2 separate regions of the Homo sapiens genome follow, and region 2 is linked to region 1. Evidence: promoter capture Hi-C in human tissues and cell types (Jung and others, 2019). All regions are on one chromosome and are shown on one strand. Each heading gives the region's core, a stretch centred on a gene start or on the middle of the fragment in contact. The rest is flanking DNA. Distances are from core to core; before and after follow the strand shown.

Evidence for each region. The method cuts DNA at HindIII sites, captures the fragments that hold promoters and counts their contacts. A contact is called where the count stands out against the background at its distance.
Region 2: a contact is called between a fragment that was not itself captured here and the fragment with the promoter of ANKRD52 in region 1, in 3 of the 25 tissues and cell types used here (aorta, dorsolateral prefrontal cortex and lymphoblastoid cells).

Annotation. Positions count from the first base shown.
Region 1 is chr12:56,255,812-56,260,779 of GRCh38, reverse strand. ANKRD52 (ankyrin repeat domain 52) reads left to right here and starts at 2,396. Exons shown (of 28, transcript NM_173595.4): 1 at 2,396-2,537; 2 at 2,869-2,952; 3 at 3,419-3,497; 4 at 3,695-3,765; 5 at 4,796-4,968. The coding sequence starts at 2,511. RefSeq lists silencers at 2,138-2,197, 2,208-2,757, 2,778-2,847 and enhancers at 2,908-2,957, 3,038-3,087, 3,394-4,386. The HindIII fragment of the contact is 23,354 bases long and covers 1-4,968 here.
Region 2 is chr12:56,587,697-56,592,664 of GRCh38, reverse strand. It overlaps RBMS2 (RNA binding motif single stranded interacting protein 2), which reads right to left. Exons shown (of 14, transcript NM_002898.4): 12 at 4,291-4,371; 13 at 3,647-3,733; 14 at 1-3,525. The coding sequence ends at 3,653. It also overlaps the pseudogene RNU6-343P. Among named protein-coding and RNA genes, the nearest start is that of BAZ2A, 40 kb to the left of the region's middle. The HindIII fragment of the contact is 7,330 bases long and covers 1-4,968 here.

The DNA.
Region 1 (4,968 bases), core at 1,147-3,646:
AAACCTCCTGGCTAACATGGTGAAACCCCATCTCTACTCAAAGTTAGCCGGGCATGGTGGCAGCACCTGTAGTCCCAGCTACTGGGGAGGCTGAGGCAGGAGAATGGCATGAACCCCAGAGGCGGAGCTTGCAGTGAGCCGAGATCCCGCCACAGCACTCCAGCCTGGGCGGCGACAGAGCGACACTGGTCTCCAAAAAAAAAGGTGAAATGAGAAACAAAGGTGTACAATTTAACCAGATTGTGGCAGTATAAACTAAGTATGTAAGTGTTAAGGAGAACTAACAAAAGGAAAAGAGCCTATTAGCCAGAGGAGACTTCCTGGAAGAGGTAAGTTTAAATTTCTTCATAATTTTTGTGTGTGCATGGAATCACGGAGTGATTGCTCCTAAGCAATATTTTAACTTTTATTTTCAATATGGTAAAAATTTAAAAAATTCCAAAAGGTATATAGTGATAGGTAAATTTCTCTCTCATTCCTTATTTCCTGTACCCCAGTTTTTCTTTCTGGGAAAAAAGGACTGTTACTAGTGTCTTAAGTATCTTTCTAGCAGGAAAGCAAGGGAAGGCTTTTTTTTTTTTTTTTTTTTTTTGACATGGAGTCTGGCTCTGTCACCCAGGCTGGAGAGCAGTGGCTCCATCTCGGCTCACTGCAACCTCCGCCTCCTTGGTTCAAGTGATTCTCCTGCCTCAGCCTCTCCAGTAGCTGGGATTACAGGCGTGCACCACCACACCAGGCTACTTTTTTATATTTTTGGTAGAGATGGGGTTTCACCATGTTGGGAATGGGAAGGCTTTTTTTTTTTTTTTTTTTTTTTTTTTTTGAGACGGAGTCTCGCTCTGTCGCCCAGGCTGGAGTGCAGTGGCGCAATCTCGGCTCACTGCAAGCTCCACCTCCCGGGTTCACGCCATTCTCCTGCCTCAGCCTCCCAAGCAGCTGGGACTACAGGCGCCCGCCACCCTGCCCGGCTGATTTTTGTATTTTAGTAGAGACGGGGTTTCGCTGTGTTAGCCAGGATGGTCTCGATCTCCTGACCTCGTGATCCACCCGCCTCGGACTCCCAAAGTGCTGGGATTACAGGCGTGAGCCACCGCGCCCGGCCGGGAAGGCTTTTTTGAAATGTATTTTCGCCGGGTGCGGTGGCTCACGCCGGTAATCCCAGCTCTTTGGGATGCCGTGGCAGGTGGATCACCTGAGGTCAGGAGTTCGAGACCAGCCTGACCAACATGGTGAAACCCCCGTCTCTACTAAAATAAAAAATTAGCCGGGCAGGGTGGCGGGCGCCTGTAGTCTCAGCTACTTGGTAGTCTGAGACAGGATAATCACTGAACCCGGGAGGCGGAGGTTGCAGTGAGCCGAGATCGTGCCACTGCACTCCAGCCTGGGGGACGAGAGTGAAACTCCATCTCAAAAAATAAAATAAAATGTATTTTTATTTTTTAATTTTTTTCCTCTCCCCTCAAGGGAGGATTTTTATATATAAAGCCTTGACAGGACGCCAGCATGCTGCACTTCGTCCATTTCGTGTTCTCTTCAATGTGTATTGAGTTGTGAAACTCTGAACAGGACCCTGGATCACCTTTTATAAATTGTATCAATTTTTCAATCTCCACTTTTCGTCTTCCTCCTTTTTCCGTTTCTGGGTTGAGATGACCTCCATTCATTTCTTCTCTAATTGACGGCTCTCTGGCCTCTCCATTGGAGGAGGGGAAGCGCCACAGGCTGTTCTGGGGAGAAATTGTTGAGTGTTTTCCACTTTAACCTTGCAATGGAATCAGTAAGGAGTTGGAAAATGCCCCTTCTGTTGGTCTTGGCGGCCTTTTCCAGCTGCCAGTTGTCATGGCCTCTTTGTGGGTGTTTTCTGCAGTAGAATCCTCCTTGGGGTTTCTCTGCAGTTTGAGCACTTTTGCTATTTCTTCTCTACCGAACTCACGCCTCCGCCAGTGGAGATACACGCTTTCCCTCCCTCTGGGGCTATTGCCATACATAATTCCCAGTTCTCCACCCGCCAGTTCCTCCTAGTCTGTGGGGGATTTCGGGGTGTGGAATCGCTGACGGGAGGAGTTAGCTCGGGCGGGAGCATTGTGGGCTGGGTAAGATCTGGCCAGCCGTTCGGTCCTCAGTTTGGGAAGCACCGCGGGACTAAGGCCCAGGTTTCCGCTAGGGTCTTGTGGGGAACCCCTTGGGCCGCCAGACTGGAGCGGAGAGCACAGCGCGGCCAGCTGCGTGAGCCGGGGAGCCGGCGCGCGAGTTCGGGGGTGCAGGGGCTGCTGGGGCCGCCAGGGTGGGGCGGAGGGCGCTGCGGCCGGGGTCCGTTTGCGCGGGGAGCGCCGGGACCAGGACGGCCGCCAGGGAGCGCTGCGGCCTCCAACTCGCCCGCCCCCCGGTAGGCGGGGCCGCGCTCTCCCTGCAGCCGCCACCGCAGCCGCCGCCTGGGCCGCTCCGTGTCCCCGGTGGAGCCGCCGCCGCCGCCGCCGGGAGCTCGATGCGGACGGAGCCCGGGCCGAGCCATGGGGATCCTCAGCATCACGGACCAGGTCAGCCCTCCTGCCCTTTCCCGCTTCCTCCTTCCAGGGCTCGGCGCTGCCGTCACGCGAGCCCGGGGATGTGCGGCCTAGGCTGGGCCTGAGCCCGGGGCTCCCGCAGCTCCCGCCCCGCCCCATGCCGCGCTCCCCTCAACCGAGCCGGTGTCCTTGGGGACCTGGCAACCGGCGGAGGCACCGCGGGAGCTCGCTCCAGCCAGAATCCCTAGAGTGGAGCCCCTCCACGGACGCCCCCCACTCAAACCTAGGTGCTCCCCCACCCCCACCCCCACACCGGTTCCGCTCCGGCTCCAGCCCGCTCTCAGAATGCCGGTTCTCTCTGCAGCCGCCCCTGGTCCAGGCCATCTTTAGCCGAGATGTGGAGGAAGTGCGTTCCCTACTCTCGCAGAAGGAGAACATCAATGTGCTGGTGAGTTGGGAGCAGGGAGGATGGCGAGACCGGAATCCTGGCTCCCGTGTTCTGGACCCCTCCCCACCGGTGGGGCGGCTCCGTGTCTCCTCTGCTCAGATGAGGCCGCAGTTCTTTCCATCCTGGAGTGAAAGCCTACTCTGCATTTGGGGATGGAGAGCAGGTCAGGCTTGAAGCCCAGATCACTTGGGCTGGGAATGCCCAGGAACGTTGTTCTCTTCTCAACCTCCGGAGTCTGCAGCGCCCCCACCCCTCCTGGAAAAAGGAGCCGGCTTCTCAGCCCATTGGCCCTGACTCCACCCTCCCTAGGTGCTTGCCTTTGACTCCCAATACCGGGACTTAGGACGCTGCAGAAACTATGGGAAGAGGTTGTGGGGAAGGGCCTGGAGCTCTGAGACTTGGGCTGGGGTCCTTGATAGCCCCCTTACCCCGCGCCCATACTCCCTGCTCTTTTTTGCCTTCCCAGGACCAAGAGAGGCGAACTCCATTGCATGCTGCTGCCTACGTAGGCGATGTCCCCATCCTCCAGTTGCTACTGATGTCAGGTGAAAGTGGGGAGCTGGAAGGTGTGGCACATAGGGAGCGAAGGGAGGGGAGGAGTCTTTTTTGATATTCAAGGATTGCTCTCCCCGGCTTGGTCCAGGCGAGGCTCCAGCTCCATTCAGATTTCCTGGCCTGATTACTGGCTTCCTTCATACCTCCTCCCCACCTTCCATCAAAATAGGAAATTATATCCCCACAGGTGCTAATGTCAATGCTAAGGACACACTGTGGCTGACCCCTCTTCATCGTGCTGCTGCCTCCCGAAACGAGGTATGCACCCCCACCTTCTATTACCCTTTCAAAAAGGATAAGTTGCTTAAAGGTGGGGGTTAAGGGTTAAGGAGCCTCAGTCCTCAGCCCTACAAGCTGTTCTACCCCAGGTAGTGAGGAGATCAAATCTTGGCCCCTTCCTCCTACCCCTAGAACTGGCCAGTAAGGGGGTTGAGTGCTGCCAGCTGATGTGACTCAGGAAGAGCTTAACACTGGGCTGGCAGACTGCGGGGGCCCTGCTGCCAGGCCTGAGTGACTCATCCCTCCCTGGGGGGCCACCTTGAGTCTGATCCCCCTCTGGGCACTGAGATTTCTTTTCCTTGTGATGGAGGATGGGTATAGTAATCTGTTGCATCCTTGGCCCTCAAGCAGCTTGAAAGTTGACAGCACAGGGGCCAAACATATTTCATCAGTTGGGTCCTTTATCCTATTCCCATCAGCCCTGAAGACAGGGAAAGGGGGACCTCCTCCTCAGTTCATCACTTCCCTGGCTCCAGCCACCAGGGGGAGGGGCCGAGGCCAGTGGGAATGAGGTGGGTGGTGGTTAGGAGGGGCATTTTAGCTCGGGTTTTGCAAACGAACCAGTATCTGTTTGCTTACTGAGATACTGAAAATAATTTTGGTGCCTATGAGAAGGCTAAAGAGGGTGTTCAGGGCAAGATGTAGCAAGAGCATTTAGTTTTCCTAGAAGTAGTAGGGGGTTGGGATGTGTGGATCTCCACATGTGGATTTGTTTGGGAATGGATGTATGTGTGAGTGAAGATTTTCAGGGTCTAAGTTGGCGAGTCAGGTGGCTTGAAGAAGAGCAAAGGGTCCTTGTTTTAATCAGCAAGGTAAGGAAGAGCTTAAGTTCTAAGAAGATCCAGAAGATGGAAAGTAGGTATTCAGAGGCTAGGTATGTTGGAAAAATGAGAAGAGATTCTGTGCTGGGGAAGGGGCTGTAGATGCTATGCTGACCTATTCCTCCTTCCATTTCCTGTTGTTTTACCTCCTGCTCCCACTCTCTCTTTTGTCCCCTGCCCCTCAACAGAAGGTGCTGGGGCTGCTGCTGGCACATTCAGCAGATGTGAATGCCCGGGACAAGCTGTGGCAGACACCACTGCATGTGGCTGCTGCCAACCGGGCCACCAAGTGTGCTGAGGCTCTGGCACCCCTGTTGAGCAGCCTCAACGTGGCTGACAGGAGCGGGCGCAGTGCTCTGCA
Region 2 (4,968 bases), core at 1,713-4,212, 330 kb before region 1:
GTGGTGGGTGCCTGTAATCCCAGCTACATGGGAGGCTGAGGCAGGAGAATTGCTTGAACCTGGGAGGCGGAGGTTGCAGTGAGCCGAGATCGTGCCATTGCACTCCAGCCTGGGCGACAGAGCAAGACTCTGTCTGAAAAAATAAAATAAAATAAAAACATCTCTCTCCATCATCATCTCCACATCTTCCTGACCTCTCTACTGGCACCCTCCTCCAAAAAGTCCAATCAGTTTAGGGTCTGAGTATCATCTCAGAGCCTGAGATGAGGAGTAATAACACCGATAGGAGATGGCTAGGCAGGCTCAGAGCCTATAAAGGATTATGCCATCTGAGGAAAGGACTCTAGTGTGTTCTAGCTGACTGAAAACAGAAAAATGCCAAGTACTAAAATATTTTAAGAATGTTATGAGCATCTGTAATGAGTGGGGGTGAGATGTAAAGTACAAAGAGAGTAAGAGCTGGGCTCCATGAAGACAGCATTCAGAAAACACTAGGCATAGTGTTTAAGAGCCCAACCCTTGGCTGTGAGCTGGAAGGCTCCCCTATGTTTCCTTCTGCCATCAACCCAACCAATTAGACTATTTCATGGGAGAAACAGTATCCCTCCTTTCTTCTCCCTCCTTTCCTCCAAACACTCACCCACTGTTACAAATGAACTAACAATTAGGAGAGGAAATGAGTGTAAACCAAATGCACCAAAAAAGAAATTCCTCAGTGCCATTAGCCACTGCAAAATAACTTCAGGCCCCCATCACTTCCCATGCCCAAACCAGAAACACTCATTAATACAATCTAACAAGTAGATTCACATGAGAAGAACTCCAAAAGGTAAATTCAAAATTCAAAACAAAAAATTAGAGCCATTTAAACATTTTAAAATATATATATAGAGAGAGAAAGAAGACAGAATCAGGAGTTCTGTGAGGCAGAGGAGAGGGGAGTGGCAATATCAACAATGGTTTCTATGCGTGAAAGGCCCTTCCTAAACCTCCTACCATAGCAAAGCTCCCCCGGTCTATCAGATGAACAGAATTCTAGATTTGTTTTCTCTTTCTCTCAAAGGCCACTGACAAGAAAGCAGCTATGGTATATTTTCCTTGACTGAGGGCTGGAGACTCAAAAACAAAAGCTATCTGCCCAGCCAGAGCCCTCTAGAAGGTTGCTGGGCTTGGGGCTATTTTACACTGGATAAGCCCTTCCTGAGTTTGGAAGCATCAATTAGAAGACTGCGGCAATTTGTCCTTTACGCTTTATATCCTACCCATTGCCCCGCACTCCCTCACCCCTAGGATGTACATAGAAAGTCGACACTAGGGGCACTGGGACTCTCAATTCTAGGGTGGCTGGGAAGGGAGGGAAAGCTGGGCCGAGCTCTACTTGTGACAACTGATACTACAGTTTCTTTTCCCCTGCTGTCACCCCCTTCCTCTCCCTATGGCCAGCCTAATGAACACCTGTCTCTCTATCCTCCATTATTTGCCTTTGTCTGACTGTCTAGTGGAGAGGCACCTGGCCTTGAAGTGCAAGGGAGTCAAATTCTCCTTTCAGTGCATAAGGGAGTGACTGGGAGAAGACAAGAGCAGGATTTTATTTCCTAGAAGATGGGTGAAGTCTTTCTTCAATCTGTCTCCATGTGTATAGAGTCACATCTTGCAGAAGGGGACAGTTAAAGACCAAGACATAGGCTTTTTTAAAGGACTCCTGACCTCATAAAGAGTTGGAATTTATTGCTCTTTGCTACCCTAGCTCCCCGTTGTCCTTCCACAGAAGGAACATTATTTCTGATGTCCTGGTTCCCTGGGCAAAGGGTCCAAGCACACCGGGGCAGGGCAGGTTGCTCTGGACAGTTTAGAGAGCTTTGTCCTTTCCCACCATTGCACAGCACACACCAGAACAATGCCCACCTGAATCCCTCTGAGTACATGTGTGCATTCAGCATGGAGCCACAGCTCTTTCAAGAATCACTCTTGCTATATGCAGAGTTATCAAAAGTCAAAGTCTGGGGAGAATTCAAGGATCCCAGTCCAGTCCTTCCCCAACAGTTGCATGAGTGTCAAAAGGCACTGTTTGTCCAGGGTTGGGGTGAAAATTTACCCTAACCCAGGAGGCAGGGACAACACTGTCTATATCAGTGTTTCCCAGTCTTGGCAATATTGACCCCTGGAGTCAGATAATTCTTGGCTGGGGGTAGTGGGGACTATCCTATGCAGTGTAGGATGTTTAGCAGCCACTAGATGCCAGTAGCACACACATCCCACCTCCAGGCGTGGCAATCAAAACTGTCTCTAGATGTTGCCAAAGGCCTGAGGGACAAAACCACCTCTGATTGAGAACTCCTGGTCTGTGAGTGAAGCAGCAGATCTTCCACCGTGTGGAAGGAGCCTATGTGGATTCAACTAGGTCGCAGCTGCAAAGGCTCTGAGCACAGCAATGTGTAACAGGGAAGAGAGGGGCCATGAAGCCCAGGACAGAAAATATCCTCCAGGAGGCAAGAAAGCAGGTACTCCCAAAAAGCTATACCTCAGATGCTGTTGGCCTTGGCAGTGAGAAGAGTTGATAAAAGTCAGTAAGTCCATTCTTCCGGAACTTGCCAGGGAAGACCTAGTCTTCAACCAAGTTTGGCTCAAGGGTGTGTTCCCAGGGCTGTGGAGTTGTCTCTTTAGTAAGCCTGGGTCACATCTGTGCTTTCTGAAGCCAAAGTCTAGTTTTTTCTCCCAGGGTGTGGCAGGGTGGGGGAAAGAACAGCCACTTCCATGGCCTACTTAGTGTTCTGCCTTGTTCCTTGCCCAGCCTGCCCCCCAACCCCAAATTCCACATGAAATTTCATTTTTAAAAATCCATAAAATTAAAAGCTGTAAAAGGGCAAAGTAGGCAGGCTCAGCTGTTTAGAAAAGAGAAAAAGAAGAATCTGGACAAGAGAAAGAAGGCATAATATGGGTGAAGAGGAGATGGGGTGCATGAGCTGAGAGCTTTACAAAATAACATTTTTAGAGCCTGCATACTTTTTAAAACACATACACACATGCATCAAAAAAGTCCATAACTAAGCTCAGTAAGTAGGGCTCCTTCATCGATGTTCCAGCACCACACCTTTCTGTTCTGTTTTGGTTTGTAAAGAAATAATTACAAATTGTTTTAAAAGCATTCCCAAATAATTCCAATACATCGAAAACTTTTTCATATAGATGAGAAGCTGCGACCACCATGTCTCTTCAAGGTAGGGGAAAAGTACGTTGCAGTTAAAAACAAAAAGCTTTCTTTGCAAAAGAAGAAAAGTTTTTTTGATCTCCTTGAATGTAGCACACAAAAAAAGTGATGGTTCCCCCAGGCTCCATCAGCAATAGTAAAGGGCAGGAACGTAGAGATTTCTTTTTCCAGGCCCAGGCCTGTGAAAAACGATGGCTAAGTGTTAGTCCTTAGCAGGGCCGACGGATGGTCTCCATTCCTGGTTAACCCTCTGGAATCTGGGAGCATGAGTATCTCCAAGAATTCATTTCTATTCAGTAAAGATGGGGAGGGGAATCCTAAAGAAGGCACAAGCCAGAGAGGAGACAAGACAAACATGAGAACCTGTCTGACTTCAGGCCGGGCTGAGCTGCTGTCTGCCAGTGCAGCCCTCCCTGCCCCCCAGCATGTGGTTCTTACCCACTGTTACTTGTTGAACTGGAAAGAATAGACCCCATGCTCTGAGGGTGCGTCCACTGCCACTTGGTTCTGTTGGCCGCTGCTCTCCTGTGCCATAGCCAAGGAGGGGGGTCATCTTGCGCATTCCTTTCCTCACCTCCACTACAGCAGCCTGACCAAAGCCCACCCTACATCGAGTGCCCTCCCAAACCTACCCACTCTCCACACTCATGTGTGAGTGTTTCCACCCACACCACCACTTCCCCAACCTTCCTACAGCCTGTCCTCTTCCCAAGACGCATTAGTCAATACAAGCCAGCATCCTGGTGTCAACTACTGGCTGGCCAAATGTAAGGAAGGGCCTCATTCATGAACTCAGACCAAGTCCTTCTTTCCTACATCTGCTGTTGTTTTTTTTTTAAATATGGAACGCTTCACAAATTTGCATGTCATCCTTGCACAGGGGCCATAATCTTCTCTGTATTGTTCCAATTTTAGTATGCATGCTGCCGAAGCGAGCACATCCTTCCTACGTTCTTCGTATACCTACCAGCTATTTGTGAACACAGAATCAGCATCATTGTGAGAGAAAGATCTTGATCAGGGGGAAACCTGCCTCCGTTCATTTTCCTAATCTCAATCCAAAGAAATGATAACACCCTTACCTCGACTGAAACACTGGAAGAAGGCACAGGGGTGTACTGGGAGATGTAAGCTCCTTGCATAGCTGCAGCCGTCGGCATATACTAGAAAGAGAAACATCAACAGGCTTACAGCAGTGATTTTTGGCTACATTTGAAGCAGCTGAGGGGCTTTAAAAAAAATACTGACACCTGTATTCTACCCCAGAGATTCTATTTTAATTGGTCTGAGCATTTGCATCTTAAAAGCACTTCAGGTGGTTCTAAAGTACACTGTTAGGGAGACGTCTCCCTATATGACTTATTTTCCTCCTCTTTCCTGACTTTCTTCTGCTTTTCCTCAACACACTCCCTTCTCTACCCTTGAGCCCTTTCTATGCAAAAAGGAATGCAGTAGGCCTAAAAGAAACCTAATGAGCTTCCTCCATCCTTCCAGGTACTATTTTGATGAGGATTCCTAGGACGTGTGTGTATCTTAAACTAATATGCAGACAGAAGCACTATTCACAAGGTGCATGAGTAGGAATCAGTTAAAAGGGGTGGGCTGGGGAGCAGAATGGCTGTATTCCTGGCTCATGGAGCACTACCATTGTAGTTTATGTCCTGTTCTGAGTGTGCCCCGGATGACACTGAAGTAATTCCATCATTATTCATAAGTTACTTACGCTGAAGAGTATTACACAGGTATGCCTTGCTCAGTAG